Regions from separate parts of the Homo sapiens genome. Here regions 1 and 3 are each linked to region 2. Evidence: promoter capture Hi-C in 16 types of primary human blood cells and fetal thymus (Javierre and others, 2016). All regions are on one chromosome and are shown on one strand. The core of a region is centred on a gene start or on the middle of the fragment in contact, and the rest is flanking DNA. Distances in the headings are between cores, read along the strand shown.

Region 1 (3,649 bases), core at 1,092-3,591, 570 kb after region 2:
CAGTGGCCTGAGTAGCTGGGATTACAGGCATGTGTCACCATATCCAGCTAATTTTTGCATTTTTAGTAGAGACGAGGTTTTGCCACATTGACCAGGCTGGTCTTGAATTCTTGGGCTCATATGATTGTCTGCCTCGATTTCCCAAAGTGCTGGGATTACACGCTTGAGCCACCGTGCCTGGCCTACGCTCTTAAAAATTACTGATGACCTCAAAAAGCTTTTGTTGATGTGGATTATATATATTGATATTTACCATATTATAAATTAAAACTCAGACATTTAAAAAGTATTTATTCATTCAAAAAAAAATAAACTAATTATGTTAACATAATTACTGTATATTTAAATGAAAAATAATTACATTTTCCAAGTGAAAAAACAGAAGGATGGCATTGATTTACATTTTTGCAAATCTCATTAATGTCTGACTTAATAATAGGTAACTTGACTCTGTATTTGTCTGTTGTGATTTGTTCAGTTGAAGTATAGAAAGAAAATTTAGCCTCACACATAGGTAGTTAGAAAGAGAAGGCATATTATATTTCTTAATGTTACACAAAAACTCAACAAGTGCTGGTTTCTTAAAGGTGAGCTATGTGGAACCTGAAACCAGATCAAAGAACTTTCCTTACTGTTATATTAATTTTTTTAATACTTTGAGTGGATCTTTTACCCATGCATGATTTTATAACATCATGCATTGGTCATTTGTAAAATATTGGTTTGCTGAGTTGTTCAGACCTTCCAAATGTTGACATATTTCCACTATACAATATCAGAAAATCACTTTTGTTAACATCACTTCCGGTCTTATCACAAAACTCTTTAAATAATGGGAAGTTAAAGAGTTCACAGTTTTTCAGAATTCTAATTTACACTTGAAAGTTTAAATGTTATCACTGGCATTTCCATTGCTTGAGCTATTTCCATTTAATAGCTTAATTTCTCTGCTGAGATTTCCCATCTGTTCATTATGAGATATTTTCCTCTTCTTGAAAATATTTGTGATATGTAATTGGTGCTTTGAAGTCCTTCCTGTCTGTTAATTGCAACATTGGATTCACCACAGGATTGGTTTCTATATTGGCAGCTTTTTCTTCAGTGTGTATTACATTTTCCTGTTTATTTACCTGTCTGGTCACTTTTTTAAATTGTTACTGGACATCATGAATGATATACTGTAGAGACTTTGAGTTCTGTTACACTGTATTGTCAGTTGTTTTCCTTCAGGTAAAGCTCACTTTGTACAATAGCTTTTTATAGATTCCATCAGATTTTGTACCTAGAGGGTCTTCCATCTTTGCATACAGTTTAATTTCTTACTTTACAATCTAGATGCTTTTTGTTTCTTTTCCTTGCCCTGTTGCATTAGCTAGCACTTCAGTGCAGATGTTGAATAGAAGTAGTGAGAGCAGACATCTTTGCTTTGTTCCTAATCTCAGGAAGAAAACATTTAGTTTTTACAACACATTTATTAAATGTGTTGTAGCTGTATAGGTTTTTTGTAGATATCCTTTATGGAGTTAAAGTTCCCTTCTATTCCTGTTTTGCTGAGAGTTTTGTTTTCAGGAATGTATGTTGGATTTTGTTCAAAATATTTTCTAATTATCCTTTTGGTTTATTCTTTGCTCCATGGGTTATTTAGGAGTGCATTAATTCCAAATATTTGGACTTTTCTAGATATCTTACTGCTATTTACTTATAATTTAATTCCATTTTGGTCAGATAATATACTGTAATATTTTGATCTTTTGAAATTTGTTGGCCAGGCACAGTGGCTCATGCCTGTAATCCCAACATTTTGGGAGCCCAAGGCAGACGGATTGCTTGAGCCTAGGAGTTTGAGACCAGCCTGGGCAACATGGCAAAACCCTGTCTCTACAAAAAAATACAAAAATTAGTCGGGCATGGTGGCACACGCCTATAGTCCCAGCTACTGTGGAGGCTGAGGTGGGAGGATCACTGAGCCCAGGGAGGTCGAGGCTGCAATGTGCTGTGATTGCACCACTGCACTCCAGCCTGGATGACAGAGTGAGACCATGTATCAAAAAACAATAATAAAAATGAAATTTGTTAAGGTGTGTTTTATGGCCCAGTGGATAGTCTATCTTCTGAATGTTTCCTTTGCACTTGAAGAGAACGTATATTCTGTAGCTATATAAGGTAGTGTTTTATAAAAGTCAGTGAGGTCAAGGTGTTTAGATCTTAGATCGCCTGTATTCTGGGTTTTTTGTGTTTGTATTTTTCTATCAGTTACTATCAATTGTGGATTTTTTGTTTTAGCTGGTTTATTTTGTTTTTCAACTCTAAAATTTCCATTTAATAGCTTACATTTCTCTGCTGAGATTTCCCATCTGTTCATTATGAGACATTTTCCTCTTCTTGAAAATATTTATGATATGTAATTAGTGCTTTGAAGTCCTGTCTGCTAATTGCAACATTGGATTCACCACAGGATTGGTTTCTATTGACAGCTTTTTCTTCAGTGTGTATTACATTTTCCTGTTTATTTACCTGTCTGGTCACTTTTTAAAATTGTTACTACGCATCATGAATGATACACTGTAGAGACTTTGAGTTCTGTTACACTGTATTCCTCTTAAGTGTGTTAGTTTTTATTCTAGCAGGTAGTTAACATAGCTGAACTCCAAACTGTCTCCTTTGCAGTGGACGGCAGCTACAATCTTTGCTCAGTTCTTTTAGTTTCTAGCTGCCATTTTTTTAATTGGCCTGATGGTATTTTCTCTGCACATGTGTCATTTAACAGTTAGCCAAGGATTTGACTAGGGTTTGTATGTAGATTTTGAGGTTCATCTCTTTTGTAGTTCCTTCTCTTCCAAGATTTCCCCCCTAATTTCCTAGCTGTTCTGCCCACTTTGCACTAATTCCTCAAGCCAGTAAGCCTGTGGCTTTCTGCCTTCATGAGCCATGCTGTTTGGGAAGTTGCCCTCCAGCAAATCTCTTTTCACATATAGACTTCATCCAGTTCATACTTACTTTTGGTCACTCTTCCACACCTTCAAATACCTATTTTTTTTGTTTTGTCTAGGTTTTATAGTTGCTAACTGAGGATAGGTTAGTCTGTTCGGGTTACTCTGCAATGTCTAGAATCTGTCTCCCCACCTTATATGGGCCTAAGGCGTTGTCTTCTGTCCCTCGGGGTGCCGTCAAAATCCAACAGCCAGGTGTGGTGGCGTGTGTCTGTAGTACCAGCTATTTGGGAGGCTGAGGCAGGAAGATCGCTTGAACCCAGGAGTTTAAGTCCAGGCTAGGCAACATAGTGAGACCCCAACTCCAGAATAAAAAAATTTAAGGCTCTTCTTTCTGATATTGGCAGATATCTATAAGTTGACTGTAGTTCCTCATCTTGGCAGATATCTTTAGGGTAGCTGTGGTTACAGGCTAGCTTACTAGTTCCGTTTGCAGTTCACTGTATGTAGGCTTTTTGGTAGAAGGAGGATTTTTCAGAACACTCATTTGCCATACATACAGCCAGAAGTAGATCTTTTTATAGCACAACCCTACAGATGTTCCCTGCTACCGAGTTTTTGTTTTTTGTTTTTTAATTTTTGGACCCAAAACTTAGAATTCTCCCTGACCTAGTTTTTTTTTACTAGTATTTAATTTGTCTTCATTTTTCTCAGTTGCT
Region 2 (3,883 bases), core at 1,090-3,589:
AAAGGTAAGGGCAAATAATCTTAGGAAGATCAGGGAAAGCCTCACAGAGGACAATTGAGATAGTTCTTGAAGGATAAGCAGGTGATCCCCAGGATAAGCGGAGTAAGGGAATTCACGGCAGAGGAACAACATGCACAAAGGCAAAAAAGAAGAAAATCATAAGGTGGGTGCAAAGAATTAATTATGACAACAAAAGCTTATAGCCACTGAACACTTCCTATGTTACAGGAACTGTACTGAGTGCTCTATATACATCATCTCACTTCATCCACTCAGCAAAATAGAATTATCTTCACTTTTCAAATAAGGAAACTGAGGCTTAGCAAAGTTAAAAAAAAAAAAAAAAAAAAAAAGGCCAGGCGCAGTGGCTCACGCCTGTAATCCCAGCACTTTGGGAGGCGGAGGTGGGCGGATAATGAGGTCAGGAGATCCTGACCAGCCTGGCCAACATGGTGAAACCCCGTCTCTACCAAAATACAAAAAATTAGCCAGGAGTTGTGGTGCCCACCTGTAGTCCCAGCTACTCGGGAAGCTGAGGCAGGAGAATCGCTTGAACCCAGGAGACTGAGACTGCAGTGAGCCAAGATCGCACCACTGCACTCCAGCCTGGGCGACAGAGCAAGACTCTATTTCAAAACAAACAAACAAACAAACAAACTTGCCCAAGGTGTCACAGCTAATAAACGGTAGAGCAGAATATGTAAGTATCCATGTCTGACTCCAAAGCCCAAACTCTTAACCATTCTGACATGACCAGAGTGCAAGGGACAGTGGGAGGAGTGGCAAGACAGAGCTCTAGAATGAAAGGCAAGAGCATATTATAAAGGGCCTGGAAGAACAGAGGCTCTATCCTGTAAATGATGAGGGGCCATCACAGGATTTCACAAAGGAGACTGGCATGACCAGATCTGTAGGTCAGATAGACGATTCTAGCCAAGAATAGTGGTGCATGCCTGTAGTCCCGTCTACTAAGGAGACTGAGGTGGGAGGATGGCTTGAGGGCAAGAGTTCGAGGCTGCAGTGTACTAGGGTCACACCGGTGAATACCAACTGCACTCCAGCCTGGGCAACATACCAAGACCCTGTCTCTAAAATAAATAAATGATTCTGACAGCTGCATAAGAACTAATTACAGGAGGACAAGAACTGAGGCAGAGAGACCACTTAGGAAGTTATCCTGAAAGCACAAGCAAGAAATTATGAACTAAGTCAGTGTCTGTGAGGATGGAAAGGAAGCGCCAGATTCTAGGGGAATTAAGAGGCAGAATACAGGACTTGAACTTCGGGAGAGAGGAGGGAAATCAGAGCACTAAAGCCAGAACACTGTGACTATCATTTCTAGATGTGTTCATTTCTATGCCTCGTCCAATAGGCAGCCCCACCTACTACACTGCCTAGAAGACAGGGCATGTCCGACAAATGTTTGCTGTATTTATTAGATGAATAAATTAAAGGGACAGACTTGGCTGAGTGAATGGTGAAGCCCTTCATTGAGATAAAAAAATACAAGAGGAGAAACAGATCGGAGGGACCGGGGAAGGCTGACGATGACAGTAAGCAGGTCTGAGCTCAGGAAAGAGGTCTGGCTGGAGTAGTTTGGCGAGTCAACGCTGAAAAGCTGATAACGCAAGAGATGGAGTGCGCCGAGTAGAAGGGAGCTTTCTACTGCCAAGGACTGAGTTAGGAGAACGGACAGGGAGTCGCTGAAGCCAAGTGAGGAGAGCGGTGCCAGAGGTAGAGGGACATTTTTAAATCCAATGCAAGAAAAGGAAAAAACAAAAAAGCTTTCCAACTTTCCCAGCTGGCCAAAGATGGCATAAGATTGGGCTAGCCCCGGATTTGGACCCGGGGGGAAGCCTGCCACAGAAGTATCCCAGCAAGCTTCGGAAGGCCTGGCCTCACTCGCCAACGATGAACAGAGCAAGCAAACCAGGGCCCCGTGCCCAGTGCCCCTCTCCCGCGTCCCGACCCGCTGCTCACTCACCCGCCAGACCCCCAGCCCGGGCCCGGTGGCCCGCTCAGGAGCCGGCGAGATTTCAAACGGAGGAACTGTCGCCTGGCAGTCCGATTTTCACTTCTTCCCTCAGTCCCCGCCCACACTCGAGCGCATCACGCTCGTTGGCTCGAGAGCGTGCCTCGGGTCCCCCGCCACGCTCGCTCCCTTCCCCGCCGCCCAACCCCTCCCTCGATGAGGTCCTCAACTATCCCCCACCCCGGAAGGCTCCGGGCGAGGCTCCGGGCGAGGCTCTGGGCGAGGCGCAGCTCCCCCAACGCCACCCAACACCCACCCGCTCCCCCAGCTTCCAGGGACGCCGGGGTGTTGCCCTGCAGCGCGCAACAAACACTTCCGGAAAAGGTACCGCCTAGCAACCGGGAGTCCCGCCTCCAGCAGGAGCCAATAGGTCGCCGGCTGAGAGCTGTGACAATGGATTGGCTCGAAGTCCCTTCGGTGCACGCAGGAGCTCTGTCCGTTTTCCGTTGCACGATGGGAGTGTAGTTTAAGATAGATAATGGGAATCCGCAAGAGGTTGAAAGAGTGTAGTTTAAGATAGATAATGGGAATCCGCAAGAGGTTGAAAGAGAACCTCATCGGCTGGGCGCGGTGGCTCACGCCTGTAATTCCAGCAATTTGGGAGGCCGAGGCGGGTGGGTCACCTGAGGTCAGGAGTTCGAGACCAGCCTGACCAACATGGTGAAACCCCTTCTCTACTAAAAAAAAAAAAAAAAAAAAAAGAGGACCCCGAGTTTAGACGTGAGGATTTCTGCCAGGACAGAGAAGGACTATTTAGAGTATTTATACTAATGTGAATTATCTAATTATCTAATTGATCATTTGTTAGGAGTATGATTAACATCAGGTGAATAATACAGTGGTCATCAATAATCAACCCATTGTTACTTTAATCAACAAAACAAATGTGAATGTAAGGTAATGGAGACGCGTCCACTCCCCATCTCTCCCCGCAAAAAAACTGGCTCTCCTGTGCTCCTATTAAACCAGTGAGCACCTGACCAGGAGTTAAACCTATTTTCTACTATCCATCTTTTCACCAAAGCCCAGGGTTCAGTTTGTATGTCTGCAAGATGGGGATAGTAATGTCTGTCATAACTATTTCAAAGAGTCTATTGAAGAAGAAAAAAAGTGACACAATGTGTAGCTCCTCCACACACCCTGTCGGGCAGAAAGGTTGCTACTAATATAATTCCGAAGAGTTTTAGTTTTGCTTGCACGGAGGGCAAATCTTCCTTTCTCTCATATGTCTCCAACCTCCTAGAGAAGTTAAGAGGGGCAAAGAAAGTTCTGGCCATTACATCAATAGGAAAACTGAGAAACAGACAAATACAGATGCTGCTAGTTGAGGAGGAAAATGATGAGGCCAAGCTCATAGAGCCGCTCCTGATAGGTTCTAGAGATGTAGCTGACTCAGGATAGTCCCAGTGCCACTCAGAGGCTGATTCCAGGATGAGAAACTCAGATTGTTGGAATATACAGAGCATATTCCTTGTGAAAATTATCAAAATCAAAATAGAGTCATTTGTTTTAAAACCCTGACAAATGGAGCCAGGGAAGACCATGAAGAGAGGGTTCTCACGCATGAATACCTGATAACAAAAACTATCGACCGGGCCTGGTGGCTCATATCTGTAATCCTAGCACTTTGCCAGGCACAGTGGCTCACACCTGTAATCCCAGCACTTTGGGAGGCCAAGGCGGGTGGATCACCTAAGGTCAGGAGTTCGAGACCAGCCTGGCCAATATGATGAAACCCCGTCTCTACTAAAAATACAAAAATTAGCTGGGCATGGTGGCACACGCCTGTAGTCCCAGCTGCTCAGGAGGCTGAGGCAGGAGGCTGAGGCACTTAAACCCGGGAGGTGGAGG
Region 3 (3,569 bases), core at 143-2,642, 540 kb after region 2:
TGGAGGATGAATTAAATGGGCAGGAGTGTGGTAGAAAGACCTGTTGGAGGCTATGAATGCAATCAAGGTGACAGACAACTGGTGCAATGATGGTAGTGGAAATGGAGGAGAGGGGATTGATTCAAGATGCATTTAGGACCAAGAATCGGGAGCTTGTGAACGTGTGTATGAGTACTGTAGACGGAGTGGGTGTGTCATCAGAGAAGATCTGAGCATTTGGGCTTGCTCTCCTCAGAGGCCCTGCGAGTGGAGTTCAGCTTTTCCTCATGGGGCAAATCTCACTTTCGCTCCAGTTCCTGGGGCTCAGAGTCCCTGGCCCAGATGCCTCTTGCCATCTCATCTTCACCCTGCCTGGCTTCCCTTGCTTGTTCCAGGATTGTTTCATAAAGAGGGATGTGGTTGGTCTTTAACCCTATGAATGCTGGCTGAGGATGCCTGCGGAACCTGTAGTGAAGCTTTCAGGGGCTGCTCGGGTTCTGGCTGGTAGGTGAACACTGTCCATCTTGCCGGCTGGGACACAGTGACTCTGGGTAGTTGTGTAAGAGAGGGGCCCTTGGCAGACAAACAGGTTCTTCTCTGTTGGTGGGCCAGCCAGCAGGTCAGTGGGAAGGTTAAAGGTCATGGGGTTTGGGAGAAACTGGGTGAGGAGTTCAGCCCCATCCCCCGTAAAGCTCCTGGGAAGCACTTCTCTACTGGGGCAGCCCCTGATACCAGGGCACTCATTAACCCTCTGGGTGCCAGGGAAAGGGCAGGAGGTGAGTGCTGGGAGGCAGCTGAGGTCAACTTCTTTTGAACTTCCACGTGGTATTTACTCAGAGCAATTGGTGCCAGAGGCTCAGGGCCCTGGAGTATAAAGCAGAATGTCTGCTCTCTGTGCCCAGACGTGAGCAGGTGAGCAGCTGGGGCAGAGGGATGGGGGTCACAGTCCTAAGGGAGGGCATTGCAGGTGGCCTCAGGGGAGAGCCTGGGGTGGCCCCTAAGACGTCCTCTTGGAACATTTTGGCAGAGTTGCCTCTTCGCCCTCATTATGGCTCAGTTTTTCCACCATGAAATGGGAGGGAGGGAGACAGGTGGGCAGGGGAGAGGTGGTAGAAGTGGCCTAGAGAACTGTTCCTGGGGTCTGGGACCTTTGCGAAGGGGTTAGAGCACCACGCTCCCTGCTATGTGACTGAGGTAGCAAGAGCACGCCCTCTTCCCATGTCTGAGGAAGACACCCTAGCCTCCTTGACTCACCTAGGTCAGTCCTCTTGAGCCCCAACAGCTCTGTGCTCCCCAGCCCAAGGAAGGGGTAACAGGATTTCGGGCAGTTGCCCCTGCAGAGGCCCCCTGGGCAAGTCCCCTGCGCCATGTCCCTTCGTCTCCTTCTTCCCCTAACCAGGCCTCCCTCCACCTGTCTTCTCAGAGCAGGTAATGGCAAGCATGGCTGCCGTGCTCACCTGGGCTCTGGCTCTTCTTTCAGGTGGGTCTCCGACCCTGACTTCAACGTGGGGGTGTGGGTGGAGGCTGGCCAGAGGGCCCTGTCCACCCTGGGGGAGGAGAGCCCAGGCCCTGATTACCTAGTCCCTCTCCACAGCGTTTTCGGCCACCCAGGCACGGAAAGGCTTCTGGGACTACTTCAGCCAGACCAGCGGGGACAAAGGCAGGGTGGAGCAGATCCATCAGCAGAAGATGGCTCGCGAGCCCGCGTGAGTGCCCAGGGGAAGGGGTGTAGGCGAAGGGAGGAGACAGCTGGGCCATGCCATGATGACCTGCCTCTGCTGCCTCAACCTCTGTGGCCGCTGCTGGGACAGAGGAAAGGAGCGGTGCTAGCTCTGTCTGCAGATCCCGGCCATCCTGGGCTCTTTAGCGCCCTCTGCCTGCAGCCCCCGCCTTGACAACTCCGTAGCTGTTGCCCCCTTGCTCACTGAGGCGCGGGACCTGGGATCAATCGGGAGGACGCCCGCTGCAGTCCCCAGAATCAAAGGATGATGTGGCGCATCTATGTTTCTTTGGAGAGTGTTGTAGGTCTGGATTTGTATGGGCAATGTGTTTGTGCTTCGTGCGTGAGTTGTTACTGGCCAGGGCTAGGACAAGAGCCCTCGACCCTGGGGCCAACGCCCTGCGTCCTTGGTTCCCCCAGAGGATCAGTGCGCGATGACTTGGGGACAAAGGAGATGATGGAGGCTAGCAGTCTGACGGCCTGGATATCTGTCCCCTTCTCCAGGACCCTGAAAGACAGCCTTGAGCAAGACCTCAACAATATGAACAAGTTCCTGGAAAAGCTGAGGCCTCTGAGTGGGAGCGAGGCTCCTCGGCTCCCACAGGACCCGGTGGGCATGCGGCGGCAGCTGCAGGAGGAGTTGGAGGAGGTGAAGGCTCGCCTCCAGCCCTACATGGCAGAGGCGCACGAGCTGGTGGGCTGGAATTTGGAGGGCTTGCGGCAGCAACTGAAGCCCTACACGATGGATCTGATGGAGCAGGTGGCCCTGCGCGTGCAGGAGCTGCAGGAGCAGTTGCGCGTGGTGGGGGAAGACACCAAGGCCCAGTTGCTGGGGGGCGTGGACGAGGCTTGGGCTTTGCTGCAGGGACTGCAGAGCCGCGTGGTGCACCACACCGGCCGCTTCAAAGAGCTCTTCCACCCATACGCCGAGAGCCTGGTGAGCGGCATCGGGCGCCACGTGCAGGAGCTGCACCGCAGTGTGGCTCCGCACGCCCCCGCCAGCCCCGCGCGCCTCAGTCGCTGCGTGCAGGTGCTCTCCCGGAAGCTCACGCTCAAGGCCAAGGCCCTGCACGCACGCATCCAGCAGAACCTGGACCAGCTGCGCGAAGAGCTCAGCAGAGCCTTTGCAGGCACTGGGACTGAGGAAGGGGCCGGCCCGGACCCCCAGATGCTCTCCGAGGAGGTGCGCCAGCGACTTCAGGCTTTCCGCCAGGACACCTACCTGCAGATAGCTGCCTTCACTCGCGCCATCGACCAGGAGACTGAGGAGGTCCAGCAGCAGCTGGCGCCACCTCCACCAGGCCACAGTGCCTTCGCCCCAGAGTTTCAACAAACAGACAGTGGCAAGGTTCTGAGCAAGCTGCAGGCCCGTCTGGATGACCTGTGGGAAGACATCACTCACAGCCTTCATGACCAGGGCCACAGCCATCTGGGGGACCCCTGAGGATCTACCTGCCCAGGCCCATTCCCAGCTCCTTGTCTGGGGAGCCTTGGCTCTGAGCCTCTAGCATGGTTCAGTCCTTGAAAGTGGCCTGTTGGGTGGAGGGTGGAAGGTCCTGTGCAGGACAGGGAGGCCACCAAAGGGGCTGCTGTCTCCTGCACATCCAGCCTCCTGCGACTCCCCAATCTGGATGCATTACATTCACCAGGCTTTGCAAACCCAGCCTCCCAGTGCTCATTTGGGAATGCTCATGAGTTACTCCATTCAAGGGTGAGGGAGTAGGGAGGGAGAGGCACCATGCATGTGGGTGATTATCTGCAAGCCTGTTTGCCGTGATGCTGGAAGCCTGTGCCACTACATCCTGGAGTTTGGCTCTAGTCACTTCTGGCTGCCTGGTGGCCACTGCTACAGCTGGTCCACAGAGAGGAG

Evidence for each region. Contacts are between HindIII fragments. The CHiCAGO score rates a contact against its expected background, and 5 or more counts as called.
Region 1: a fragment that was not itself captured here is called in contact with the fragment with the promoter of CEP164 in region 2 in 1 of 17 cell types (neutrophils); the score reaches 5.8 in neutrophils.
Region 3: the fragment with the promoter of APOA5 here is called in contact with the fragment with the promoter of CEP164 in region 2 in 9 of 17 cell types (neutrophils, activated CD4 T cells, naive CD4 T cells and 6 more); the score reaches 9.0 in neutrophils.

What each region holds. Positions count from the first base shown.
Region 1 is chr11:116,752,461-116,756,109 of GRCh38, reverse strand. All of the region lies in intron 9 of BUD13 (BUD13 spliceosome associated protein), which reads left to right. Among named protein-coding and RNA genes, the nearest start is that of BUD13, 19 kb to the left of the region's middle. The HindIII fragment of the contact is 4,243 bases long and covers 220-3,649 here.
Region 2 is chr11:117,326,310-117,330,192 of GRCh38, reverse strand. CEP164 (centrosomal protein 164) reads right to left here and starts at 2,339. Exons shown (of 33, transcript NM_014956.5): 1 at 2,289-2,339. RefSeq lists a silencer at 2,022-2,271. The HindIII fragment of the contact is 8,937 bases long and covers 1,884-3,883 here.
Region 3 is chr11:116,789,702-116,793,270 of GRCh38, reverse strand. APOA5 (apolipoprotein A5) reads left to right here and starts at 1,392. Exons shown (of 3, transcript NM_001371904.1): 1 at 1,392-1,459; 2 at 1,574-1,685; 3 at 2,204-3,569. The coding sequence starts at 1,411. The coding sequence ends at 3,143. The HindIII fragment of the contact is 6,000 bases long and covers 458-3,569 here.